Linked DNA regions of Homo sapiens: regions 1, 2, 3, 5, 6 and 7 are each linked to region 4. The links are contacts of gene promoters, found by promoter capture Hi-C in blood cells and fetal thymus (Javierre and others, 2016). All regions are on one chromosome and are shown on one strand. The core of a region is centred on a gene start or on the middle of the fragment in contact, and the rest is flanking DNA. Distances in the headings are between cores, read along the strand shown.

Region 1 (2,700 bases), core at 97-2,596, 2.0 Mb before region 4:
TCTTACTGATAGATAGGAACTCAGAAACTGCACAGAACATTTGAAGTATGTATTTGATAAAAATTCAGTGAGCCCTCTTTTGTGCCAAGTACGGTACTAGATACTATCGATACGGACAGAGTTTAGGACATGCCATTCCAAAATATGGCCTCTTGATGTTTCAGAAAAAAGCAGAAGCAGGAAGTTCTCTTTGACCTCCTCCCAAAGTTCTCCTCTGAAGCAGGTCGTAAAAGAATTATCTGATCTTTCTTTAAAGTAGGTCATAAGACCCTCATTCCAGAGACATCTTTCCTGTATCTGGAGGAAGGAATGAAGACATAGAGATGCCAAGAAGAATCTGAACAAATAGGCCTTACAAGTTGCCCCCAGTTAATTCCGATTAGATCATACCTTTGTCCAATCATACTTCTGTATGGCTGTCTACTCTTCATTAAACCTAAGTATAAAAATACACAAGTTTTCCTGTTTCTTTGGTTCTTCATTTCTGAAAACTCTCACGTCATATAAAACTTGCTCATATGTATTTTTTTTTTTTTTTGTAGAAGTCTCAGCCATGAACCTAGCAGTGAAGGAGGAAAACATCTTATGTCTTGTTCTCTACAACACAAAGATGAACATAAAGAAGAAACACAGACTCTGGCCTGGAGAAGTTCAGTGTCTGGTGGGGGAGACTGGATAAATAATTTAAAACATTTATTTAACAAATAATTACAGTGCAATATGATAAGTACAATAGCTAAAGTGTGGGCAAAGTGTCGCAGGAACAGGAATAAAGAGGAGACAACTTCCAAAAAAATCTTACATACTTAACCTTTTCCCGACATTTTGACCTGAAAATAAATCAGCATAACAACTCACAAATACAAGGGTTACATAATTTGCTTTATAAGAAGTACAGATTAGTTTTAAGTAAGATGATTTCTTTATAATGATAGCCCTGATAATTTAGTTTTTATGGACTTTTGGGATTCCATATTTATTAAGTCATCATTTGAGTCTCTCTTAGTAGATAGGATTCTCATCACACTTATTTTGGGGGATGTCATCTTACTTATTTGCCACCTAACACTGGTCATGGGCTGGTATTCAACAAAAATTTTTGAGCTAAATTAAATTTGAATATGTTATTATGGGTTAGATGAAGTAAAAAAAAATTGGGGCTGTTAATTGGTAAAATCTGAATTAGGATATTTATCTGGATAAAGTACTAAGAAAAAGGAAACCTTTACATATCTCCTTTATATAGTTAACTCCCAACACTCTACACTAAATATACTGTTTAGTATTAAAGGCTAAACTTATAATTTCTATCATTTAATATAGATATAATTATCTATTATATAGATATCTAGATATCTAGATATCATATCTAGATATCTAGATATCTATATCATATCTAGATATCTATATCATATCTAGATATCTATATCATATCTAGATATAGATAATATAGATATCTATATCATATCTATATATAGATAATATAGATATCTATATCATTTAATATAGATAATTTGTTTTTGGCAGAAAATATATATCAGATAACTACAAGCAGAAAATTCTATTTGATACAAGAAATGAATTTGGCATTTGCTCAAGATACACACACACACACACACACACAGATATGAGTATAAGCAAGGACTAAATTACAAAGCATGAATTTATCTAGAATACTGTGGTCTCAGGTATGAAGGAAGTCTTTAAAGTGCCCTATCTAAAGGATCAGCATGCAGATGGGGAATTTATTTTGGATGGTAATGGTGGCCTTCCCTTGGAACTCTTTCCTCAAATCACAGCTCATAGATAGCCAATTAGGTCAAATTGAGGTTTGAGCTTTCCAAATGGTTCTCTGTTTTTCCTAAGCAGCACCTCTTAGACCAAGAGTTCTCCATGAAAGGAGTTACCTGAACCGCCATGTAACCACTGGCTTTTCCATGCTCAAAGCCATCTGCTCATGATAATCACAGCACATTGTGTTTTCATGAAGTACTTTCACAAGGTGTTATCTCATATGACATGAATAGCTTCATCGCCAGGTTGTTAAATATCCACTTTTCAGATACAGAACTGGCTTATAACTTCTATTCAACATAGTATTGGAAGTTCTAGCCAGAACAATTAGGCAAGAGAAAGACATAAAACGCATCCAAATTAGAAGGGAAGAAGTTACATTGTCCCTGTTTTCAGAAAACAGGATTTTATATGTAAAAAAACCCCTAAAGACTCCACAAAAAACTATTAGAACTAATAAATGAATTCAGTAAAGTTGCAGGATGCAAAACCAACATATGAAAATCAGTCGTATTTCTATATGCTAATAACTAACATCCAAAATATAAATCAAGAAAACAATATTTTTTGTGGAATAACTACAAAAAGATACTTAGGAATAAATTTAGCCAAGGATGTGAAAGACCTGTGCACTGAAAACTATAAAACATTCAGGAAGGAAATTGAAAAAGACACAAATAAATGGAAAGATACCCTGTGTTTATGGACTAGAAGAATTAACATTGTTAAAATGTTCATATTCCCCAAATGACTTATGGATTTAATGCAATCCCTATCAAAATTTCAATGACATTTTTCGCAGACACAGAAAAAAATTCTAACTTTTATAGGGAACCACAAAAGACTCTGAACAGCCAAAGCAATTGTGAGCAAAAACAACACAGCTGGAGACATCACATTATCTGA
Region 2 (2,700 bases), core at 91-2,590, 1.9 Mb before region 4:
GAGTGCCAACATGATGCCACAAGTAGAAAGTTCCATATCTGTTGAGGTGTGGGGAGCTAGGGAAGGGATAGCATTAGGAGAAATACCTAACGTAGATGACGGGTTGATGGGTGCAGCAAACCACCATGGCATGTGTATATCTATGTAACAAACCTGCACGTTCTGCACATGTATCCCAAAACTTAAAGTATAATTAAAAAAAAGTAAAAAAAAAAAAAATTCCACATCTGAAGTCATGTTCCAAGTTGCAGTCAAACACACAGTTGTACCTTTGTTTCACGAACAAAATTATTAAAAGTATTATATGAAATTATCTTCAGCTTATGTATATAAGGTATATGTGAAACATAAATGAATTCTGTGTTTAGACTTGGGTCACATCCCCAAGATATCTCATTATATATGTTCAAGTTTTCTAAAATCCAAAACATTTCAAAGTCAGATACATGGGTCCCAAGCATTTGTGATAAGGAATACTCAACTTGTACTGCTTTCCATCATATCCAAACACTCACTCTGGCCAGGTGGGGTGACTCACACCTGTAATCCCAGCACTTTGGGAGGCCGAGGGTCCAGCATTGCTTGAACCCAGTAGTTCGAGGCCAGCCTGGGCAACATAGTGAGACCCTGTGTCTACAAATGATTTAAAAATTATCTGGGCATGGTGGCACATGTCTCTAATCCCAGCTACTTGGGAGGCTGGGGTGGGAGGATCAGTTGAGCCTAGAAGGTTGAGGCTGCAGTGAACTGTGCTCTCACCATTGCACTCCAGCGTGGGCAACAGAGTAAGACCCTGTCTCAAAACAAACAAAAAACCAAACATTCATAGTTCTGCCATATTTTCTTTAAGGAAAAAACAAAATAATTTTTATTGTCATCTCATTGCAACAGTTCAAGCTTAGTAGAACCTCCTTTCTACTACTTTTGTTTCTTTACTTTTTCTTTTGAAAATGTTTAAACCTGCAAGAGTACAGTGAATTCCCACAAAGTCTTTAATTTACCAAAAGGTTGACATTTTACCACGTTTGCTATATTATTTTCTGCATATGTACTTTTATACTTATTATTAGTGCCATACCACTTGACAATAAGTAGTAGAAATCATGGCCCTTCACTTTAGCTTGTATTCCTTTTTTTTTTTTTTTTTTGAGACGGAGTCTCGCTCTGTCGCCCAGGCCGGACTGCGGACTGCAGTGGCGCAATCTCGGCTCACTGCAAGCTCTGCTTCCCGGGTTCACGCCATTCTCCTGCCTCAGCCTCCCGAGTAGCTGGGACTACAGGCGCCCGCCACCGCGCCCGGCTAATTTTTTGTATTTTTAGTAGAGACGGGGTTTCACCTTGTTAGTCAGGATGGTCTCGATCTCCTGACCTCATGATCCACCCGCCTCGGCCTCCCAAAGTGCTGGGATTACAGGCGTGAGCCACCGCACCCGGCCTTTAGCTTGTATTCTTTTAGAACAAAGGCATTTACCTAATAAACAGGGCCTAGAGGGTGAAAGGAAGAAATGGCTGGTATTCACCAAGGACAGATACAAAAGGGACCAATTTTTTGACGAAGAATTTGCACAGCAATTAAATTTCCCCTGTGACTGCAGGAACCTTGTAAGTAAAAGAATTTCAAACTGAGCTTAGGCATGCTCCTTTGACCTGTTTTAGCCTGAGCAATTAATAAAGTGTTTGGATTGTATTTGCACTACAAGCCTCAACTCCCTGAAGAGTAAGTAGGCTAACACACAGGTGGAAAAATTAGCAATTTATTGATTCGGTACATTCCAAACATAGTTGAAGCTTTCTTAAGCTGTTTCTAAGACCCCAAGCTGTGTGCATTCTTGTGATCATATTGGCTCCCTCTCAGCCATCGGGATTAACATACTGCTGGGCCAGGGTTTGCCTTCTGATTCACAAATTAACAACCCACAAATATCCTTTTGCCAGGTAGTCAGTTCCGGAGTCAGTTCTTCTGCAAGGCTTGAGGCTCAGACTAGGAAACAAAACTTACCCTCTGGGAAATAACATTAAACCTAAATTCTAACACAATTTGATGCTGAAAGATCAAAGATTCCTCAGTGTAGTTTACTAATAGTTCCCCACCGTTAAGTATAAAAAATTCCTTCCACATGCCTTTCGCCTCTGCATTCAACTGTGTTTGACAAAGCCTGTCTCACAAACTCAATTAGAACCACTGAGCTTAAACACACCCCTTTCCTTGGTCACTTACAGTAGATCTTTTCCTGACTGCTCCTATCGTGGCAGGGACTGCTCTTAGAAAAATGTGCTCTTGTAAAAAAGATCTCACAATAGCTCTCACATGAAGCTTATCGTCAATGGTCAGTGTCCGATTATGTCATGCCGTGTTGTTTTTCCAATGGGACAGACTGCTGCTTTCATCAAGTTGGAGGATATATTTATGGTACTGTTTTGAAGGGCAGTGTTTTAAGTTTGAATTACAAGATATTTTTGAAAATATAGTCAACTCTTTCATTTGGAGCTCAAAATGAATATACTAAATCTGCACTTCTGAATAGAAGTCCATATGCCTGGACATAAAATGTGCAGTGATAGAGCACAGTGGGACTTCATGAGTATTGGTGTATATAGTCTCAACTATAGACATTTCGAAGGCATAATTTTCATTTCAATAGATTAAGGCATGTGTGTGAGAAAAGCGTGAAAATTATAAGAGCCCAGAGTTCTTAACTA
Region 3 (2,700 bases), core at 150-2,649, 1.9 Mb before region 4:
CAAATGCATGGAAAGAATTAAGTTGAAACAGTGATTTGTGTTAAACACACGTTGTACCAGTTTTTTCCCAAGGTTATTTTTGAACTCTTAATGTTTAATAACTGTACAAGGAAATGCAATTTTTTAAAAAAGTAACACTATAGTAGTGTTGACTTATCTTTGTGGGGCTCAAATGTTAGTTTATTCAGCAACTCTTTATTGTGCTCCTAATATGTGCCAGGCAATGCAATACAGCAGTGAAGACCTCAGTAATGATCTTGATCTCTTGCCACTTATGGTTTAATAGGAGGTACAGATAAACCTTCAACTAAATCATACAACAGAGCTAGGCTGTGAAAGAGGAAATGCAGGTGGAAGCTGTACCTATCTAACCCAGGCTGCTAAGCTGAGTCCTGAAGATAAGACGGAGGAGTTTGCTAGGCATAACAGAGTGGGAAGTGTGGTGCATACATAAAAGGTACAGAGGTACAAAGGTACAGAGGAGAAAGAAATGTGCATTCCGAAATGGAAGGAAGTTCATCATGGTGGAGATGAGTTGAGAGAATGAAGGACTATAAATGAGTGGTTCTTAATCAAGGCAGACTTTGGCCCCAGGGAACATTTGTCAATTTCTGGCAACACTTTTGGTGTCACAAGTGGCAGAGGGGGCTGCTATTAGCTTGTAGTGGGTAGAGGTCAGGGAAGCTGCTAAACATCCGCCAGTGCACAGGACAGCCTCCACAACAAAGACCAGCTCTCAAGGTCAGTAATGCTTAAGCTAAGAAACTCTGTAATATTAAAAGATAAACCTGTACACTTGGGGTTAGATTACAAAGCTACTGAAGGAATTTGGGATTTATTCTAGGAATTTGGGGGCACCACTGAAAGATTTTAAGCACATGTTGTTTGTCACTCTGAGAACCACTTTATTGTTATGGCTGAACCTCAGTATTTTAAAATCTATACTAAGTCTCACTCATGTGGGCTAACCATTGTGCCTACTACAAATGACATCTCCCTATTTTACAAAGGTGGAAAGAGCATCATTGTGAAATGTTCGCTAAAAGTTTAAAAAAGAAGATGAATTAATTATTTGATCCTCACCAGTCACAACATAATTATTTCAAAAACGTGTATTTATTTAATTGGGCTCCTTCCTGTCACACAGGGTTGAGCGTGGGGGGTCTACTCTCATGAATCTAAAGCACTTCTGGAGATTAATGGAAAATACACTGGGCCAAGGCAAGGTTACAACCTGAAATAAATAACTAAGCTTGTACATTCAGAGCAAAGGGTTTCCTAATTTAAAAAAAAACTTAGTTCCAGACTCTTTTGAACATCTGATGACACTATGGCCTCTTTTTATTTTTATTTTTATTTTTATTTTTTTTACAGAAATATGCACTTATACTCCCAAGTATTTAACTTCAGAGGCTCACAGACCCTAGAGAGATACAGTGGCTTCTCACTTGATACTGATGTTCCTAGAAATATCTAATGGCCAGATTTATAACAATAGACATTTGCCAAAAAAAAAAAAGTATAGCATAATTTAGAATCAATCAGAGAAAGCTTAGCATTTCTTAATCAAGGAGCAACTCTTTCCAAAAATGCTCATCAAGATACCATTTACGTCAACTTGTAAAATATAAATAATGTTGCATCACAGCAAAAAAAGTCTAGGGAAATGAGCAATTTTTTTATGACCCATAATGAAGACAATGTGTTGCTCTGGTTACAATAACCTCTGTGAGAAACAATTCTGTAAACCATGTGCTTTCTGCTGATTCCTTTCCATCTAATCATTACTTTCTCTAAAAATAGTGATTGATTATAGGCTCCGTGTCTTGCAAATTGGAAGAAAGGGTGAACTGATACGTGCTTGAGTTCATCACAGTTTTTTTGTTCTACAATCAAGTACCAGACTTTGGATTCCCTTTACCTTCTTTGACTGCAGATGTCCCAATGGTCTTAGTCATGACGAAACTGCCCCCAAACACCCGCATCTTATACAGACACACATGCACACACACATACACACACATATGTGTGCACACACACACACACCCTCTTCAGTTCTTTGAAGGGCTTAATGCATGCTTATATAAAGGTTTCTATCTATTTTGATGCCATCACCATTAACTCAATTCTACTTCTTGATTTGCCAGTGTGCCCTATCATTTTTCTCACTTGCTAGTTCTGTTCAGAGAATCTGTGTCAGCTTTACCTCCAATTCTCACTGTGATTTCTAGTAATCTGAACCACTTGAACCTGATTCCATTATATTGGGATTTTGTGTACTATAAATATTAGTCATAGGCCAGGTGCAGTGGCTCATGCCTGTAATCCCAGCACTTTGGAAGGCCAAGGCAGGAGGATTGCTTGATCCCAGGAGTTCAAGACCAGCTGGGGCAACATAGGGAGACCATGTATCTACAAAAAAAAAAATGTTTAAAAGTTAGCTGGGTGCAGTGACACATGCCTGTAGTTGCAGCTACTGAGGGCTGAGAAGGAAGGATTGGTTGAGCCCAGGAAGTCATGGCTGCAGTGAGCTGTGATTGTGCCACTCTACTCCAACCTGGGCAACAGAGTAAGACCCTGCCTCAAAAAATAAAATAAAGTAAAATAAAATAAAATAAAATAAGTCAAAATCGAGGTATCAGTGGGGGCTGCAGTTCTCCCCTGGCACTCAGGGTCCTCTTAGGAGCTTCTTGCTTACTT
Region 4 (2,700 bases), core at 198-2,697:
ACAAGCTTTATGCCAAGGATATTAGAGACAGAAACAGACCAAAGCTTCGAAGGCGCCCATCCCCACACACGGGGATCGCCTGTCACATCACATCAACCTTGCTTGTCTCAGAGGGAAGACCATTGAAAAGTTAAAAGGGAAAAGAGTTCAGGGATAAAGACGTTAAACCAAAGGGGGGTCCCTGAATCTCGGTGACGGGGGATGGGCACCAGGCTAGGTCTCGGCGAGTCCGTGAACCCGTGCATGTACATACTGCTTAGGAGCTGATTCACAGCTTTACTAAGGCTCCGTGGAGCCCCTAAACGTTAAATGATGCTGATTCGAGAAGAAAACGCACCAGCGGCACTGTGTCTGGCTTGGGCAGCCTCACCAGGTGCAGGAGATCAAGCTTTCCAGTTCCAATCCTCTCCCGAGCTCCTTGCGTAGGGTCAAGGATGCCCTCTCTTCTAGGAGCGGATTAACAGGGCAAAGTGGGAAAAAGAGCGAAAGAAATGTAGAGATGCCACCTTGGTGGGCAAATCTGAGATGCCTCCCGCGGAAAGAGACGCAACTTCCAGACCCGCTCCAGTTCTCCACTTGGGCGGGAAGCTTTGCGCTCCCAGCTGGAAGACGCCTCCCGAGCGCTCGCTGCGCCCTTCAAGCAAGATCCTAGCAACCAGAGCTTCAGGGTGGGGGTGGGGGCGGGGGGACGCTGACCGGCTCCCACCTGCTTGCTCCTAGAAAGATCCTAGCTCAGATTAAAGGGATGAAGCGCTAAGGTCGACTTGTCCAGAAAAGAGCTCACGGTGAGTTCACCACCCCCTATACCAATTCATCGAGTGGCCTCCTCCGCATCAGCAGAGCACCCCCGGGGATTCTGTCAGACATGAACCCCGAAACTGGAAGCGGCCGCTGCCTCTCTCCAGCCACACATCCTTACTTCGGAGTGCCCCTTCCAACTTCGGGTTGCACGCCGACCTCAGCACAGGCACTCTCCCCGGCGCCCCAGAGAGCCGGGATGAGGGGAGCTGCACCGAGCTGAGTTAACTCGGTACCAGCCGAGAGGCAGCGGCTGCCCACGAGACAGCACCTAAATACAGGGTCCAAATCCACCCCCACCCCATCCTCTCGCCCCTCCTTATCCCTTCCAACCCTTCTTACTCGACTAGAGCCGGCATCCAAGTCGGACCGGCGCGTCCGGAACTAGGTACTGATCGCCGCACCGGAGCCCGAGGACGCTCACCGTGCCGCCTCCCCGCGGGAGCCCCGGGAGCGGCCCATCACCTCTGCAGCCTCGCCAGGAGAAGAAAAGTTCCCACGTCTCTACCAGGAGAAGCCCGAAGCTCCTGCGGGAGAAGCCTGAAGCTGCTGCTGGAGAAGCGGCAGCTGAGGCAGGACTCCCGATGTTTGCCCGCAGCCGCGCGCGCAGTCGGTGCGCCCCGTCCAGGGCGGCGCGCAGCTAGCAGTGCGGAGCCGAGCCCAGCTAGCGCGCTGACCAGGAGGGGCCGGGCCCGCCGCGGAACGCGCTGATTGGCCGGGCCGCCCGGCTGCTCCTGTCCCTGCCTGGCCCCGCGGTCCACGTGGGCCGGCCTTCTCCCCGCCCCGCACCCCTGCTCAGGCGGCGCGCCCCCACTGCCGGCCTCCAGGCGCCTCTCCCGAGCGCCTCGCTGTGGCCACCACTCCGCAGGTGCTGAGCAAAAGGTATTCTTCCTGAATACCTGAGAGTCGCGTTGAGCTCCACATAAGGAAGACGGATTTAGGGTTCGGCTCTCACTCGAAACCATTCTCCACGCAGGACCCAAAGCGGTTTGCAAGCAGGATTTCTTAGCCACCCCGTGCAGTAGCACATTCATGAACTAATCTGGCTTCGCGTGTAATGTGCTTGTATGAGAGAGGAGAAAACTCGGCCCACGTATGAATACCTAAATACTTTTCTTTTTTAATGTATAAAATACAGCTGGGGCCGGGCTCGGTTGCTCACGCCTGTAATCCCAGCACTTTGGGAGGCTGAGGCGGGTGGATCATGAGGTCGGGAGATCGAGACCATCCTGACTAACACGGTGAAACCCCGTCTCTACTAAAAATACAAAAATTAGCCAGGCGTGGTGGCGGGTGCTTGTAGTCCCAGCTACTCGGGAGGCTGAGGCAGGAGAATGGCGTGAACCGGGGAGGCGGAGCTTGCAGTGAGCCGAGATCGCACCACTGCACTCCAGCCTGGTCGACAGAGCGAGACTTCGTCTCAAAAAAAAAAAAAAAAAAAAAAAAAATTCAGCTAAGACTTCTTTGACTCCCTCCTCCCACCCCATTCCTAGTCATGCCCTCCACTCTTCCGCAAGTGAAGTAACTGATAATCAGTGTCACTTAATGGTATTCATTTTACTGGGATTAGTTCATCTGATCTCTATTTTATAGATGAGATAACTGAAGCACAGAGAAGTTAAATCGTTTACTGAAGATTACACAGGTAACTAGTAAATCCATGCTCTTTAGTATGCAAAGCATGGCGTCGTAGAGCGGTCCCTTGAGAACACTTTAGAACTGCAGACTTTCAGGCCCCACCCCAGAAGTAGAATCTTCATTTTAACAAGATGCCCAAGTGGCTGGTGCATGCATAAAGTTAGAAAACGTTGCTCTGTACCACTATGCTGCTCACTGTCATTGGCTTGGCTTATCATCTTCTGGTCCTTTTACTCTGCATTGACATACAATTATGTGCCATCC
Region 5 (2,700 bases), core at 129-2,628, 1.9 Mb before region 4:
TTATCATGGCATATTTATGATGATGTTACATGTATGCATTTTGGTCTTACTGGCTGAACGTTACTAATAATGCTTTTTTAGAGCTAGAGTAAAATGAATTTTCTATAAACACACAAATTGGATAGAGCAAATAGAATCAAGTTTGTGTTTTTTTTTTTTTTTTTGAGATGGAGTCTCACATTGTTACCCAGGCTGGAGTGCAGTGGCGTGATCTTGGCTCACTGCATCCTTCACCTCCTGGGTTCAAGTGATTCTCCTGCCTTAGCCTCCTGAGTAGCTGGAATTACAGGTGCCTGCCACCACACCTGGCTAATTTTTGTATTTTTAATGGAGATGGGGTTTCACCATGTTGGCCAGGCTGGTCTCAAACTCCTGACCTCAAGTAATCCACCCGTCTCAGCCTCCCAAAGTGCTGGGATTACAGGCGTGAGCCACTGTGCCTGGCCAGAATCAAGCTCTTAACAATTCTGCCATCAAGCCCAAGTAACTCCTTGTACCTTCCCAATACAAACCTCCCAATTCAGGTTGATTATAATATTATCTGTTATATTGTGTCATGGAATGACAAAGTTTTAAGGTATTTTGTAACCCATATGAATGTATCTCTGGAGATTATAAAAGAAATGTTTTAGAAAGTGAAATATATAGCAAATTATGCCCTTTAATCTTTAGAGGTTGTAGTTACAACATATAACCAAAAACCAAACATAAAAATTTACATATTCTTGTTTTCTTTTTTTTTTTTTTAGGAGAATTTTTTCTCTTCTATGAGCCTCAAAAAGACTACTGGGGTTTCTTAACCCCCATGACTGTGCCTAGAATCCAGGGCTTAGCAGCTGTATACAAGGACTCTATCTACTACATAGCTGGAACCTGTGGAAATCATCAACGTATGTTTACTGTAGAAGCCTATGATATTGAGCTAAATAAATGGACTCGTAAGAAAGACTTTCCATGTGATCAGTCCATAAATCCATACCTTAAACTGGTACTTTTCCAGAACAAACTCCATTTATTTGTTCGAGCTACTCAAGTGACTGTTGAAGAACACGTCTTCAGAACCAGCAGAAAAAATTCCCTTTACCAATATGATGACATTGCTGACCAGTGGATGAAAGTGTATGAGACCCCAGATCGGCTCTGGGACCTTGGCCGGCATTTTGAATGTGCTGTTGCTAAACTGTATCCTCAGTGTCTTCAGAAAGTACTCTAAATGAGTAGCAGGCCTTAGTGCATCACTGGCATCTCATTCTTAGGAAACTTGTCTTTGATACAAAAGAGTGCTGACAGTATTTCAGAAAGCTGAGAGAGTTTTATACATGGAAAATGGGTATGCTTAAAGATTGCAGGGTAGGGAGGGATTTTCCTTCATCCTTGTGACATTTCATTTCAGTAAGGAAAAGATAACAAAGTGCAATTATCAGCATTTTTTTTTCCTGGCATAAAATTAATCATTTCATTTTATAATTTTGTGATAAATAGTAACTGAGGTACCAGATGAATCAGGACAACTATGCACTCTTATAAGAGCATTTAGGGTATTATTGGGTAAAGACGTCTAAACTTGTTTGATGTGACTTTTAATTTTAAATACGGGTAACAATCTGAGGCAATATCACTAGGACTTTAGCTGTGACCTCTCTAACACAGAGAAGCACTAACTTAGATCCTCATTCTTAATATTTATATGTATCTATTTTTGTGTACTGTTTTCAAGTGTACTGAGATTTAAATGTGTTCTATTATTAGAGTAGATCGAAGAAAAAATTAGTCTCAGAAAGAGCTTTTAGTCTGATTGTTTCCATTTCCCATGTAATTTTAAGTTAAGCTAAAGTTTTAAAGTGGCAGTTTTCTGTCGATGACTTTTTCAAGTGCTAACACTGTCTCTTTTGTGAAAATCTGGAAAAGTGCTCATATTCACAGGTGGCTGGTGCTAGTCTAACTTAATTCATGTGTATAACTAGATGGATTTAAATGGTCTGAGCCTATGCCTATCTTTCAAATTGGTGTGGATTTCATGGCCATAGTACTTTACCTGTTGAACTCTTGTGATTTCACAAGATTCTCTACTTATGTGATAGGAGGGTATGGCCAGTTATTCATCTAACTGGACTCAATCTTAGAATAGTAGGAACATTATACCCAGTTTGCACTAACATGGGCCATTTGTAGCCCAACCTTCTCTTCCATCTACCTGTCCATTCATTATTGGTACAAGGAAAGGTAACTTATTTCTCTTCTGCACAGAGCATAATGTGAAGTTTTATACCTACTTTTAAAATTCTGCTTTCCAGAAACAAAATTCCTGCAGTGGTCTAATTTAATGTCTTTAAGTTTCATATTACAATTAAAACCTCATTTTTTTTTTCCATTTTTGCACTTAACAGTGATGAATACTTTTACGTTGGAATCCTCCTTCTAGCTGAAGGTGATTGAAAAGGAAAAGAGTGAGTGAACAGAACCATAGCTTTCTAGGTACTAAAGCATTTTTTGCATTTAACTGATGAAATTTCTAACAATCATCAGTTAGGAATATTAACATGAAGGATAAACCAACTTATTTGTATACCTAAGGCAGGCATTTGGATCAGTAACATGTTTTACTAAGCCTAGAGTAATTCGTAAAGGGTATAAGCATAGGACAGATTTTGCCCTCAATCACAATATTTGTATTCACTTGAAAGCAAACTGGCATGGTTC
Region 6 (2,700 bases), core at 121-2,620, 1.9 Mb before region 4:
GACATATCAGAGTTGCCTTGGAATTAAAACCATATTATTGCAGCTGTATTAGATTCCCAAAAGATAAGCCCAGTGCTCTGAAACATTCATTGTGAAATATTCTAGATTCTAGACATTTTCAGTTAGTAGAAAATCCTTGAATCATTGCTAATTTCCACTTTAAGTTTTCCCCTCTTCTATGTGATCAACAGTTTTAGTAGACTCTGTTTTCCATTCCAAGTGATAACATAGTCTGATACCTTTTCAAATACATGCCTTGATTAGTTGGTTAGAAATATTTACTATGTGGATAAATATATTAAAATATATGGATATGTTCTAATTATACAAGCTATTTTTCTATCTAATTGATATTAACAAGACAATACTTTTTAAAACTTGTGTAGTTTTCTACAAACATCTTCTTCTCTGAAATGTGAACACGGCAGCTTTTTTTTCTAAAACCAATTTAGAATTATTCTTTGGACTGTCAACTGTTCAGAGACAATTTTGTTAATTTTAGACTGCACACTAAATATGCAGCATATTTGTGGCTAGAAATACAAAATGTAGTTAACTTTATTTCTTATAATGATTATCTTCATTGCTTTTCAAACTTTACATCATATAATCAATTTTCAAAACAGTTTGATTTGTTGGTAGTAATTTGCATTTTGTTTTTCTATTTGTTATTTCACAGAGTTAAGAATGTATTGTGATGATAGTATGCCTTAAAACATCAACATATCCTGATTTTAATAAATACTATGAGGTCTGCCATTTGAGGAGTTTGATTTGTAATTAAGTGTAGTAGCTATTTCTGTTTGCACAAAGCATAAAACGTTACAACATGTTCAAGTTTAAGTCCTTTGTTGCATCCTAAATGATTCACTCATTTTCCACAGAAAAGCCTCAATTACAAAGAACTAAAAAAATTAAATTAATAATCAGTGGAAGAGAAGTAGGTTTAAAAAGGATGCTCAAACTATATTGAAAAAAAGGATATGAGGCTGGGCGGGGTGGCTCACGCCTGTAATCTGAGCACTTTGGGAGGCTGAGGCAGGCAGACTGTTTGAGGCCAGGAGTTGAAGACCAGCCTGGCCAACGTAGTGAAATCTGGTCTCTACGAAAATTACAAAAACTAGCCAGGAGTGATGGCGTGGCCTGTAATCCTAGCTACGTTGGGAGGCTGAGGCAAGAGAATTGCTTGAACTTGAGAGTTGGAGGCTGCAATGAGCCAAGATCACGCCACTGCACTCTAGCCTAGGCAACAGAGCGAGACTCCATCTCAAAAAAAAAGAGAAAAAATGTATATGAAAAACATGTTGGGAATTCTCCACCGGAGAGAACACAAACCTACAAATACGTGAAGAATGACCAAAATGGTCTTTTGGAAAATGTTGATAAGGGTTGATGGAAGATCAATGTAGTATATTTGGAACATTCTGGACTATACAACACTAAATGGCCCTTCACTGTAGGACTACTCAGAGCCTGTGATATGTACATTGTTCATTACTGAGAAGCTACATATAAGAGCAAGCAGGGCTTCTGAAATAGTTTTGATGGTGGAAAATTGTTTGTTTCTTGGTAGTGCACCTCATAGAAGATCTGTGACAAATGCTTTGGGACATGGTGTGGTACCTATTTATGTCACCAACTTTATTATAGAATACATTTATTGAGGGCTCATTTAAATCTCAGGTCAAGTGATATTACATAAATTTCAACTCTCTATTAATATAGTCATTTATCTTTGCAGGTTAGCTTGGAACAAAATAAATTTCAACTGTTTTTGTAAAATATAAATTCTGAGTTAATAAACAAAAGATTTTAATTTTAACTTTTAAAGTCTAATTAAAATTTCCAACAGCATAAATTAATGCTGCAGAATAGAGAGTTCAGAAATAGACCTATGCAGATATGCTCAATTACTTTTTGATAAAATTACAAAGGCATTTCAGTGGATTTCACCAAAATAAAAATTTCTGCTCTGGGAAAGACACTGTTAAGAGATTGTAAAGCAAGCCACAGATTGAGACAAAGGTTTGCAAGTCATGTGTCTAATAAAGGACTTGTATCCAGAATATATAAAGAACTTTCAAAACTCAGTAATCAGAAAATAACCCAACTTAAACAATGAATGAAAGATTTGAACAAACAATTCACCATTGAAGATATGGCAAATAAGCACATGAAATGGTGTTTAATATTGTTAGTCACTGGGGAAATGCAAATTAAAACCACAATGAAATGCCACTACATATCTATTAGAATAGCTAACATAACCAACGAAGAAACAGTACCGAAAACAACAATGACAAAACTGACACCACCAAGTACTGACCAGGATGCAGGGAAACTAAAACTCTCGTACATTGTGGGGAGTTTAAAATAATAAAGCCACTTTGAAAAATAGGTTGAGAGTTTCTTATAAAGTTACATGTTCACTTATGCCATAGAACCAGTAATTCTACTTCTAGCTATTTACCGAGGAGAAATGAAAACATGGTCACACAAGAACCTTTTCATAAAGGCTTATAGCAGCTCTATTCATAATCATAAAAAATTGGAAGGAACCCTTCAGTGAGCCAATAGATAATCTGAGATGCATTCATATGGTGGAATACTACTCAGTGATAAAAAGCAAAAATATTGACACATAAACAATTTGAACGCATCTCAGATGCAAAAGAAACTATACTCAAAGGCTACAAGATT
Region 7 (2,760 bases), core at 33-2,532, 2.0 Mb before region 4:
TGTTGCTCACAAGCCTTCTCAGTGGATACTGTGTGTTCTAGGGAACACATACACAAAACTGCACACATATACACACACACATATATCTATATGTGTACCAATTTAAGTCTGTGTATACATATAATACATAACCACATAATTATACCTATCTACATATATCCAGACAACTATAATTATCTCTACATATATTGATTGCTATATCTATCTATAGAAATAGATATTGATTTCTATCTATATATTGAAATTCATGAATTCATACCAATATATCTGATTTTTAATCCAACATCACAGAATCCATCCTAGTCCTTTCCCTTTCTGTATTTGTATTGTCTTTCTAAGACTAAGGAACCAGGCCCCCATAATAATTATATTTACTCATCACTGTAACCAATTTCCCAACCCATCTCTCCCATGTTGATGTCTTCTCAGCCCGCTTGGGCTCTGATTCCCCTTGTTGAGCAACCCTCTTGTGTGAAAATCCTTTTCACCCAGCTTGGGCTCTGACACCCCATGCCTGGCCACTCCCATGTATGGACATCTTCCTTACCCCACCTAGGCTCTTGCTTCCCATAGAGCCATCTCCTCTTTTATATGGGCTCTGACACCAAGCTGACTCTCTGTAAGGATGCCCTCCCCATTCTGCTTGGGCTGTGAGTCCCCATGCCTTCCCACACTCACTCGGATGCCCTCTTTGCCCTGCTTGGTCTTCAACACCCTACATCAGGCTACTCCTTCATGCAAAGCCTACCTTGCTGTGCCCTACCTAACTGCTTGTTCAAGATTGTTCAGGAAGGAAAGTAAAGGGAAACAAAGATAAACATTTCAGTTGTAATCAAGGAAATATTAAGGAAGTCTTCATTATGCTTTTGTAAAAAACAAAGTAATGCATGCAACTAATGAAAATTCAGGCAGTTCCAAAGAGCTTACTTTCCCCAGCCCACCCCTAGTTCGATTTGTCTGCATATTCAAGCGTATGTAAGTATAGCCCTTTTTTCCCCCTTTGAACACAGATGGGCTTATGTTAACTGGCCTGCCACTTTTTTCTTTTCCCATTAAATGTACTTCGGAGGTCTTCATATGGCAGCACAATGCATCTACTTTAATATTTGCATAGCTTTGTTGTTTGAATTATAAATGGATATCTGTCTTCCGCTGATAGTCATTTAGGCTTCTGTTTCTGACATTTTCTTTTTATAAGCAACGCTGTAATGTATGCCCTTGAAGAAATATCTTTGGGTATGTTTCTCATCACATTTTCAACTTTTAGAAACTTATTTAATCTCAAAATCAAGTAGTTCAAATAAATAAGGATATAAAAGGCAGACTACTTAAAAGGCATTGTATTTTATCTTAACTGCGAATTTGTTTTGTGTCATAAAATGTAGGGTTCAAAGAGCAAAATCAGATGATTCTGTCCATACACTAGAGTCTATCTAAAATCCTTTTTATAGCAGATGAGGTAACTTAAAGAACAAAGTCCAAGCAATTTAATAACAAAACCAGAGCTAGCACCCATGAGTCGAGCGAGGGCCCACACAGAAGTGAATGCCACAGGAGCAAACTTCCAACCTCCAGGAGGCAATCCTCTTCCTAATATCATTTGCAGTTCTACCTGGAACTGCATCACTTACATGCCCAGAAGCAATTGAATTCCATGTGTCTTTTACTCTTTGATACAAGTAGTGCCCTGGAGGTGGAGTCAGGTTAAACATTTTGCCCCTGTTCTATTTGTCTTCCCATGCTAAATTAATCATTCTGTTTTCAACCCTTAATTATCTTCATCATCCCCATATACATCACACTTAATGAAAGACAAGATCAATAAGGAAGAAGAAGATTGATAAAGATAAAACTGAAAACGAGACCTTAAAGATGAAGCCACCCAGAGAAGAGGATAATAAAATAAAAGAAAAAGCAAAAGCGGTTCAAAGGGGGAAAATTGCCTTCTGAGAATTGAGAAAAGGCTACCAGGGTACAGAAGATACAATAGATAAATTGGGGGCTTAAAGAGGCATACAATTTCCCCAAATAAAATATGGAATAAGAAAAACTAAGGCATATCAGGGGAAAAAGAAAAAGCAAAATCACTGGCTTATTCTTCTCCTCTAACTTAAATATTTCTTTGAGGTGTCAAGTTATTTCCCAGTAAATCTCTTAAATCATAGACTGAGTAGTCATATTCAGATTGCAGTAATCATTAAGCGGTTGTTCATCATATGATTGTCTCAACTAAATATAGAAGGAAAAATAACATAGGAATATAAGGCACATCCTCACAAGAAAGAAATCCCTATCACAACAAAACTATTTAACAAATTAACATAAATTAAAATGGTCCTCATCTTATGAAAAAAGATACATGACAATTTTTAAAAAGTATTTAATACACATCTGAAGTGGATCCTTCCTGTGTCACATCATAGAAATAGCAACCTGGAGACATTTTAAAGTTAATTTTTTACAATCCTAAAATATACCAACTCAAGTTTCCGATGATTCTTAAGGTGATAGCAGCCCCAAGGGGTTGCACTATTCTTTGTGGTTTCCGTGTGCCTTGCCTCCATGTTTATAAATAGTTTCTTTGCTAAACCATCCTTGAATTATCCTAATTCCAGTGTACTGTCTGTTTCCTGCTAGTGGGCTTGCTAATACAGAGAGTAAATGTAGAATGATCTTCCAGGGAGATTAGAAAGGCAGTGGTAGGCATAATTAAGAGAAAGTAATGATCTTCCAGGGAGATTAGAAAGGCAGTAGTAGGCA

The links. The method cuts DNA at HindIII sites, captures the fragments that hold promoters and counts their contacts. A CHiCAGO score of 5 or more calls a contact.
Region 1: a fragment that was not itself captured here is called in contact with the fragment with the promoter of TAFA4 in region 4 in 11 of 17 cell types (endothelial precursors, M2 macrophages, naive CD4 T cells and 8 more); the score reaches 11.5 in endothelial precursors.
Region 2: a fragment that was not itself captured here is called in contact with the fragment with the promoter of TAFA4 in region 4 in 3 of 17 cell types (M0 macrophages, endothelial precursors and naive CD4 T cells); the score reaches 13.7 in M0 macrophages.
Region 3: a fragment that was not itself captured here is called in contact with the fragment with the promoter of TAFA4 in region 4 in 4 of 17 cell types (non-activated CD4 T cells, M1 macrophages, endothelial precursors and 1 more); the score reaches 8.5 in non-activated CD4 T cells.
Region 5: a contact is called between a fragment that was not itself captured here and the fragment with the promoter of TAFA4 in region 4, in 5 of 17 cell types (M2 macrophages, M1 macrophages, endothelial precursors and 2 more). The highest score is 9.3, in M2 macrophages.
Region 6: a fragment that was not itself captured here is called in contact with the fragment with the promoter of TAFA4 in region 4 in 4 of 17 cell types (M2 macrophages, naive CD4 T cells, M1 macrophages and 1 more); the score reaches 11.6 in M2 macrophages.
Region 7: a fragment that was not itself captured here is called in contact with the fragment with the promoter of TAFA4 in region 4 in 9 of 17 cell types (M1 macrophages, M2 macrophages, naive CD8 T cells and 6 more); the score reaches 16.1 in M1 macrophages.

Annotation. Positions count from the first base shown.
Region 1 is chr3:66,940,324-66,943,023 of GRCh38, forward strand. All of the region lies in intron 1 of LOC105377144 (a long non-coding RNA gene), which reads right to left. Among named protein-coding and RNA genes, the nearest start is that of KBTBD8, 57 kb to the right of the region's middle. The HindIII fragment of the contact is 3,311 bases long and covers 1-2,700 here.
Region 2 is chr3:66,987,251-66,989,950 of GRCh38, forward strand. No RefSeq gene overlaps it. Among named protein-coding and RNA genes, the nearest start is that of KBTBD8, 9.7 kb to the right of the region's middle. RefSeq lists enhancers at 701-1,450, 1,451-2,200, 2,201-2,700. The HindIII fragment of the contact is 891 bases long and covers 896-1,786 here.
Region 3 is chr3:67,032,911-67,035,610 of GRCh38, forward strand. No RefSeq gene overlaps it. Among named protein-coding and RNA genes, the nearest start is that of KBTBD8, 36 kb to the left of the region's middle. The HindIII fragment of the contact is 299 bases long and covers 1,251-1,549 here.
Region 4 is chr3:68,931,100-68,933,799 of GRCh38, forward strand. It overlaps TAFA4 (TAFA chemokine like family member 4), which reads right to left and starts at 1,448. Exons shown (of 6, transcript NM_182522.5): 1 at 1,141-1,448. The HindIII fragment of the contact is 2,333 bases long and covers 587-2,700 here.
Region 5 is chr3:67,007,173-67,009,872 of GRCh38, forward strand. KBTBD8 (kelch repeat and BTB domain containing 8) reads left to right here. Exons shown (of 4, transcript NM_032505.3): 4 at 750-2,700. The coding sequence ends at 1,213. Among named protein-coding and RNA genes, the nearest start is that of KBTBD8, 10 kb to the left of the region's middle. The HindIII fragment of the contact is 3,515 bases long and covers 1-2,700 here.
Region 6 is chr3:67,065,179-67,067,878 of GRCh38, forward strand. No RefSeq gene overlaps it. Among named protein-coding and RNA genes, the nearest start is that of KBTBD8, 68 kb to the left of the region's middle. The HindIII fragment of the contact is 4,397 bases long and covers 1-2,700 here.
Region 7 is chr3:66,961,371-66,964,130 of GRCh38, forward strand. The region is part of intron 1 of LOC105377144 (a long non-coding RNA gene); the gene reads right to left. Among named protein-coding and RNA genes, the nearest start is that of KBTBD8, 36 kb to the right of the region's middle. The HindIII fragment of the contact is 4,638 bases long and covers 1-2,760 here.